2 separate regions of the Homo sapiens genome follow, and region 2 is linked to region 1. The links are contacts of gene promoters, found by promoter capture Hi-C in blood cells and fetal thymus (Javierre and others, 2016). All regions are on one chromosome and are shown on one strand. The core of a region is centred on a gene start or on the middle of the fragment in contact, and the rest is flanking DNA. Distances in the headings are between cores, read along the strand shown.

Region 1 (4,050 bases), core at 9-2,508:
CATAATAATTTCATTTATTTTGGTACAATTTGCTTTCAGAATCAACCTCGGCTTCTGCGCACAAGTGACAAATCCATTTGTTTGTGGTATAATGGATAACGTGATTAATGACCTTGCAACAGGATTTCTTAAAAACATAGAGAGGAAAAGAAATAAAGATTTCCATTTATAAATGTGCAGTAAACCAGCTCAGTCTGTAGCTGTGCACCAAAATCCCTCTGAACTTGTTTTAAGCCACAGATTTGGAGAGATTCTGAAACAAATTTGCTCCTGACTTTTGGGGGTTTCTGCTCATATCTGCTGTCTCCAAGAAGCTGAGGGCAGTGGCCTCACTTCGAGGAAGTGGTGACACTGCGGGCCCTCCTGGTTACAAGGACCGGGCACTGTTGGACCACGTGGCTCCATCATGATGACTCCAGTTAGATGTCACCCCGCCCCTGAGCTCAGGTCTTGCTGAATAAGGTCACCGCCCAGGGGGCAGTCGATGAACACGCGCGCGAGGGCTCTGCGAGTGGCCTCGTGACTTTGTCCCTAACTCCGGGTGTCCCCTCCTTCCCATCAGCGTCCGGCGCCTGGTCCTGGTCCCGGTCCCCGAGGCCCCCGGGATTCTTCCCGAGCGTTTTCCGAGTTGGCGCGGGGGGTGGAGGCGGGGCCATGGAGCGCGTCCCGGGGACCGTTGCATCCGGAGGCGGCCGTCGTGCGGCTCCTTCCCGCCTCGAGAGTGAGGTGGCCGGGCCTTGACGAGAAGGCCCACGCCTGCCGCGGGGGTGGCTCGCGATGGCAGTCGGGGTTCGAGTCCCGCCTGGGGGGCTGCTCCTGCTGGAGAAAACGCCTCCCTGAGGGCGGCGGCAAACGCGCAGCGAGGCCCCGTGCCGCGCCAGAAGCCACCCTGAGAAAGGGGCACCGGGACACCGAGGGGTTCCCACTTTCTCCTCAGCCTGTGACGCCCGCGTCCTCGGGTGGGTTCGAGGGGCGCCTGGGCACGGCCAGCCGAGGCTCTCGAGAGCCCCAGTGTCGTTTTCCACCTCAGGCCTCCTTTCCTGAGGCAGAGCCCGGGACCTCGCGCTCTCGCCTCAGGCTCCGGCCCACGCTCCCGCCCGGCCGCCAGGCGCGCAACGGAAAGCGCCCCCGCCCCGCCCCGCTCCGCCCACTGCGTGACGCGCACCCGGCCGAGCCAATCAGAGCTCGTGGCGCGCGCCCCACACGCCGGCCCCCTCCGCCCCTCAGCTTAAGAAAGGGCGCGCGGACCCGGCAGGCCAGAGTGCCGAGCAGCGCGGTGGGTGCGGCTGTGAGACGGCAGGAGACTTCTGCCCCGCGGTGCACGCGACCCTCGAGACGACAGCGCGGCTACTGCCAGCAGCGAAGGCGCCTCCCGCGGAGCGCCCCGACGGCGCCCGCTCGCCCATGCCGAGCTGAGCGCGGCAGCGGCGGCGGGATGCTGGCGCTGCTGGCCGCCAGCGTGGCGCTCGCCGTGGCCGCTGGGGCCCAGGACAGCCCGGCGCCCGGTAGCCGCTTCGTGTGCACGGCACTGCCCCCAGAGGCGGTGCACGCCGGCTGCCCGCTGCCCGCGATGCCCATGCAGGGCGGCGCGCAGAGTCCCGAGGAGGAGCTGAGGGCCGCGGTGCTGCAGCTGCGCGAGACCGTCGTGCAGCAGAAGGAGACGCTGGGCGCGCAGCGCGAGGCCATCCGCGAGCTCACGGGCAAGCTAGCGCGCTGCGAGGGGCTGGCGGGCGGCAAGGCGCGCGGCGCGGGGGCCACGGGCAAGGACACTATGGGCGACCTGCCGCGGGACCCCGGCCACGTCGTGGAGCAGCTCAGCCGCTCGCTGCAGACCCTCAAGGACCGCCTGGAGAGCCTCGAGGTAGCGGCCCGCGGGGAGCGCGGGGGACCTGGAATGGGGACGCTCCCGAGTCGGGGGCGGAAGACTCGGGAGGATGGGGAAAGGGGGCCTGGCCCTGGGGAGGGTGTGATCGTCCGTGGGGGTGAGCTGGACTTGAGGGTGAAAGGCGGGGATCTAGATCCTGCTCGGGAACTCCCCTGCGTGGTATCCCTTCCCACACCGCTGCTCTTGCTGGAAGGAAACGTTTAAATTCCACCCCCGCGCGTCGGGACTGCCAGCGGGATCCGCCGAGCACTTCCCGAGGTCCGGGCTAGCGAACCCAGACGGCCAAGCCGCGGGCGCCAAATACCCGGGGACGCGGTAGCCTCTATCCTCTTGCAAATCTCCAAATCTCCGCGAGCCGGGATGCGCTCCCGCAGGCCGTGCGGGTTGCTGCGAGGCTGCCGCGGGAGGTCAGCTGCCCCGGGCATGTGGTGTTTCTTTCTTTAAATCAGGTCAGGCTGAGCTAGAGGGGGCGGAAGTCTGGGGGCGGAGGTCGCAGGGAGGCGAGCGCAGGGGGTCACCGGCGACCCCAGAGCGCGCATTAGAGGGGCAACCTCTGGTTAACTTCAAAGACTCCCGTGTCTGCAAGTTGGACCATTTTAAGGTGCTCTTCCGGATTGCTTCAGGGGAAGGGACCTCATTCCCTTCTCTCTCTCTCTCTCCCCCCCTCCCCCCCTCCCCCTCCGTCCCCCCCCCCCGCCCCCCGCTCCCGCCTCCGTCTCATCTCTATCTCTGAAAATGCGTGCAGTTTGGAACTTTGAGAGAAAAATCTTCAATTATTTTTCATCTTTAGGCTCCACCCTTTTTAAGAAGTGTGGACACTGCTGTTAATAGCCTTTGTGAAAATACTTCTCAGCAAAACTAGGTTTAAATTACAGGTGGTAATTATTGCAAAAATGACTCTAGGGTTTCTTTTGGCGTGAGGGCTGAATACAGTATTTCCAGCATCTGTATATCCCCTGATTCATTGTGATTGCTAACAGCTAACATTTCTGGAGCACTAAATATGAGTCAGGCACATCATTTAATTTTTTAATCCTTGGAACAATGAATGGCATGAGGCAGGTCCCATTATGTGCATTTCACAATTTGGAACACTTTGTGGAGAAAGGTAAATAGCTTGCCATGAACTCATGGGTAGGCAGCCTGCCACAGCCTCCAGAACCACATGATGGTAGGGGAGAAAGAGAAATAGGAAGTGAGGATTTAGAAACAGCATTAAAAACAAAGATTGCTGGAGTTCAGAATAGCAACGTTTTAGATCTGTCATTTTCCAGAAACATCTCTGCATGCATAGTTATTTACCTTGGTGCCAGACCGGAACTTGGGGGCTGTTTTCATTTCTAGGTGAAAGCTCCTTGGCTTTGTGTAACCATCGATTTACTCTTAAAAAAGAAAAAAAATCCTGGAGCTGAGTTTTGGTCTCTACCCAACATAGAATTCTAGGCGTTGGTTAGAATATTGACTTTTTAGTAAGAGGAGAAAAACGGCTTTTTGAGAAGGGAAAATTAGATTCACAAGTTTCAAATATTGCAGCAAAGTAATTCTTATCTGACTTTGAAATCTTTTCCATACCAAAAAAGCATCAGTGAGATGCTCCCCTGCCTGCCAGTGGCAAGATTCAGGGCTTGCGTTTTGGAAGCTTCTCCCTGTGTGGTCGGGCCATCACAGCCACATTTCACAATTTCTTTTTAACTCTTTCTGTGCCCCTCCCTCCTCCCCGGTGGCTGAAAGCACCAGCTCAGAGCAAACGTGTCCAATGCTGGGCTGCCCGGCGACTTCCGCGAGGTGCTCCAGCAGCGGCTGGGGGAGCTGGAGAGGCAGCTTCTGCGCAAGGTGGCAGAGCTGGAGGACGAGAAGTCCCTGCTGCACAATGAGACCTCGGCTCACCGGCAGAAGACCGAGAGCACCCTGAACGCGCTGCTGCAGAGGGTCACCGAGCTGGAGCGAGGTGTGTGCCTGGCCTGTTTCTCTGTCTGGCAGTGGCCTGATTTTCACCACTTGTGGTCAGACATGCGATTCTGGTTGATGGACAGCAGGGATTGTGACACCACATGGGCCTGGTTCCCGAGTGTGTGAGCAAATAATAAAGGCGACTGAACAAGGTCATCTCAGGAATGAGCTGCCAGCCCCACTGGCATTATCCAGGGAAAAGTGAAAGTGTCCAG
Region 2 (4,125 bases), core at 360-2,859, 160 kb before region 1:
TTCTCATCATCAAATTTCTCCCTGTAGATGGACTTGCCACCAGTGCCATTAAGGAGTGTGAAGTCACCGCCCTGACACATAAACCCTGGAATAATGCTGTGAAAGCAGGAACCTTTATAACCATATCCTTTCTCTCCAGTGCTCAGAGCATGAAAGTTTTCTGTTGTCTTTGGAAACTTGTCTGCAAACAGCTTGAAGGAGACGCGGCCCAAGGGCTCGTCGATAACAGCAATGTCGAAGAACACGGTGGGGTTGACCATGGCTGATAGTACAGAGTTCCTGGTGGCGGCAGTGTCTGCAAAGCTTCTCTCTCTCTTTTTCAAGAAATAGGGTCTCACTCTGTCACCCAGGCTGGAGTTCAGTGGCACAATCATAGCTCATTGCAGCAGCCTCGAACTCCTGACCTCAAGCGATCCTCCTGCCTCAAACTCCTGAGTAGCCGGGACTAGAGGTGTGTGCCTCCATGCTTGGTTAATTTATTATTATTATTTGTAGAGATGGGATATGGCTTTGTTGCCCGGTCTGTTCTCAAACTCCTGGTCTCAAGCGAGGATCCTCCCTCCTGGGCCTCCCAAAGTGTTGGGATTACAGGCATGAGCCACCATGTCTGGCCAATGCCTCCATTTCTGAGGTGGACAGTCTCACTGCCCAGAGGAGTGTCTGGCTGGCCTTCATTTGTTAAAGAGCATCTCAACAGAAGGGGGCCCACCCATTGGAGGTGGTTCAGCTAAGTCTGGAGGCCCACCAATTGGTAGTGGTTGAGCTAAGTCTGGACATTCAGACATGGTGGGCCAGGTGCTTGTTAGAACCCCTTGGAAGCAAGAATGGCTGAGTAAACCAGGATTTTGTTGCAGAATGGAGTTGGTCCTGAATTCTCACTGTTAGAGTCACCAGCTGGGGAACCCTTCCAGCAGCCCCCAGGATCAATGACTAAAATGAAGTGGGCAGGCCTGGGGAGCTGGGAATGATGCAGGTGTATCCAAGCTCTGAAGGCAACCTCTACAAGCCAGTGCCAGTGGGAGGAGGCAGACAGACATCCTCCAGGAGCCTGTTGGGGCTAGAGGGAGTCGCCATGTCCCCAGTATGCTACCAGGGTAGCAGGGGCATCAGCAGCAGCATCACTGGATGGCCTCTTCTTCCATCCTCTGGCGTTTCACAGACTCACCATGAATGGGACAGATTTCATGACCACTCAGGGACTTTTCAGAAATCTAGGAGCAGGGATGACCCTGTACCTTTTTCAGGTCTGAAAGCAAGAAACACCCCATGGGCTGACAGCCCCCACCAGGGAAAGGACAGCTGTATGCAGCATCTTCCTCCTTAACTGGGCACAGATCCCAGGGGCTGGAGAAGGAGTGTTGACACCTAGGGGCTGGCCACACTGAGATGCCAAACTCCCCAACTTCTGGGAGGAAATGCATATAATGGATACAGGTATGTTTGAAAATATGCTCATAATGAGTACATATGTGTTTGAATGTATGCGTTGTGAGTACATGTGTGTGCATTTGTGTGAGTCTGTGTGAGAGCATGAGTGAAAGTGTGTGATATATGAAGCCAGCCTGATGGGGTTTGGTGGCATTGCTAGAAGCCCCTGAGAGGAAGGGAAAATGTGTGTGTGTGTGTGTGTGTGTGTGTGTGTGTGTGTGTGTGTCTGGGAGTGAGTAGGGTGTATGTGTCTATGTGAGTGTAAGGATACATAACTGTGAGTGTGTGTCTTAGTCCAAGGCGGCTGCTATAATGGAATGCACACATTCAAACCACACATAATCTATCTGGCTGTTCTTATGCACCAGTCCTTGCAATGAATAGCATGTATGTTTGAATGTGTGCATATAATGGGTACGTGTATGTTTGAATTCATGCATATAATGGATACATGTATGTTTGAATATGTACACATAATGGGCACACATATGTTTGAATGTGCATTGTGTATATGTGTGTGTACATTTGTGTGAGTCTGTGTAAGTGCATGAGTGAATGCGTAGGATATATAAATATATGTGTATGTGAGCTTTGAATGTGTGCATTTGTAAGTATGTGTATATGTGTGAGTGTGTGTTTGAATGTGTGAGGTGGTGTGCATGGATTGAGAGCATGCGTGAGATCCTGATTTACTATTCTTTAAGAAAGAGCTAATTCTCAAGAATAAGAACAATGGAAGGAGGACATATTAGAAGGAGAGTCACAGGGCAGAAATTCAGAAATCCAGGATGGATTGAGGGGCTCAGGGAGGAGGAGGGAGAAATAAATGGTAGCCAGGGTGCTGCGTGAATAAGCTATAGACCTATTTTAGTAGATGCCAGTAGTGGGAAATTTGGAGAGAGAAAGAGATGTCCGGTGAGGATTTTCAGAAAATTTCCATGAAAAGATTTGTCTAAAGCCCCTGGGCCTACCTTTTGACGAAGCCGATATGAAAGATTTACATGAGTATACATTGCAAGGACTGGTCCATGAGAACAGCCAAATATATTCAGGTTATACAAGGGAATAAAGGCCTAGTGGCCATTTCTCCAGGACATCCTACTGTGTAAATTCCAAAGGACACCCAGAGAAGCTCGATATAGATTTGTAAAAAGATAACGTTTTGAATGTCCATTGGGATATGATGAGTTTCTAAGAAAGAAGCCCAAGGGGGTGGAACAGCTGTTCGCCTATGACCATTGGCCCGATACCTCCCCAGGGAGCATGGCGGTGCATGGGAATGACATTTGATAGGAACCGCAAAGACACAGCCACATTCATCAAAATATGTTCAGCTGTTTGCATTCACTCTGGCTCAGACATTAGAGGAGATTTCCTGGCTTATGTGACTGAAAGGCCAGAGGCAGAGTGGGTGCCAGCATGGGTTTCATTTAGTGAGTCCAGTGTCATGAGGGTTTCTTCCTATCTCTGCTTTGCTTTCTGTGATGAAAGCTTTATCCCCAGGACGGCTCCTCTTCCTGGGTCCACATCATCTCTTCCACACCACCTGGGTAAACAGGGAGACACTCTGGCCCAAGATGTCAAGGGTGAGTCCTGAGATCCACCTGGCAGACAGTAATGACCATGGACGGGGACCAGCAAGGTTCAGACACCTGCTGAGTTTGGATCTGTGGCCTTTGGGTTCTAGAGGACTCAGCCCCAGTAGCAGCAGGATTTTTTTTTTTTTTTGGAGACGGAGTTTCACTCTGTCACCCAGGCTGGTGTGCAGCGGCGCGATCTCAGCTCACTGCAACCTCCACTTCTGGAGTTCAAGGGATTCTTCTGCCTCAGCCTCCCGAGTAGCTGGGATTACAGATGCCCGCCACCATGCTTGACTAATTTTTATATTTTTAGTAGAGATGGGGTTTCAGCATGTGAGCCAGGCTGATCTCGAGCTCCTGACCTCAAGTAATCCACCTGCCTCGGCCTCCCAAAGTGCTGGGATTACAGGCGTGAGCCACCGCACCCAGCCTAAGGCTGGCTTATTTTCCTGGCTCTGCCCCTACTAAACACCATAGGGGACTCCTGCTCCTGGAATGATCAGAGCCACCTTGGGGCCAGCTGCCCCTCTGCAGCACAGATGCTGAGCTGGGGACTCAGAGAAGGACATCAGTGATAGCCATCTTCTTCCCAAGAAGGCGCTGGTGCAGGGCGATGGTGGAGATACCCCTGAATTTCTGAGCTGTGGGCTCACAAGGTTGGGGGTGCAGAATGAATGAGGGGTGGGACCCAGTGTATATGAGGAGGCAGCCTGGATTTTGAATCCCAAGCTTGGAGGACACAGATCATCTGTTTTTGCAGTCTGACATCTGAAGCCCTGTCCTAGGCATTCCCAAAGCCCCTCCTTAAGCATCTTGGTGAGCAGTGGGGACACCTCCCACTCTAGGAACTGAAAACACGAGGTCTTCCATTCCCAGCATGTCTTGCAGCCTGAGCATGTGACCTGAGCTCAGCCAATCAGAGACGTCTGCTCTTCCTGGGCACTCCTTCCGGTGGTGGTGGTCACGTGGACCATGTTGTCTCGGGGCAGCCATGCCTTTCCCAAATTCAAATGTGTGGACTCTCTAGTACCCTGCCCATCAGTTCCCTTCTGTCTAATTAACAATCCAACTCTGTTGCTTGCGACTCATAAGCTGGCTGATACGAAAGGGAATGCAG

The links. Contacts are between HindIII fragments. The CHiCAGO score rates a contact against its expected background, and 5 or more counts as called.
Region 2: a fragment that was not itself captured here is called in contact with the fragment with the promoter of NPTX2 in region 1 in 1 of 17 cell types (naive B cells); the score reaches 5.2 in naive B cells.

Annotation. Positions count from the first base shown.
Region 1 is chr7:98,616,027-98,620,076 of GRCh38, forward strand. NPTX2 (neuronal pentraxin 2) reads left to right here and starts at 1,259. Exons shown (of 5, transcript NM_002523.3): 1 at 1,259-1,861; 2 at 3,617-3,833. The coding sequence starts at 1,436. RefSeq lists an enhancer at 2,087-2,713. The HindIII fragment of the contact is 4,236 bases long and covers 1-3,522 here.
Region 2 is chr7:98,454,347-98,458,471 of GRCh38, forward strand. It overlaps the pseudogene PPIAP82. Among named protein-coding and RNA genes, the nearest start is that of BAIAP2L1, 55 kb to the left of the region's middle. The HindIII fragment of the contact is 2,616 bases long and covers 302-2,917 here.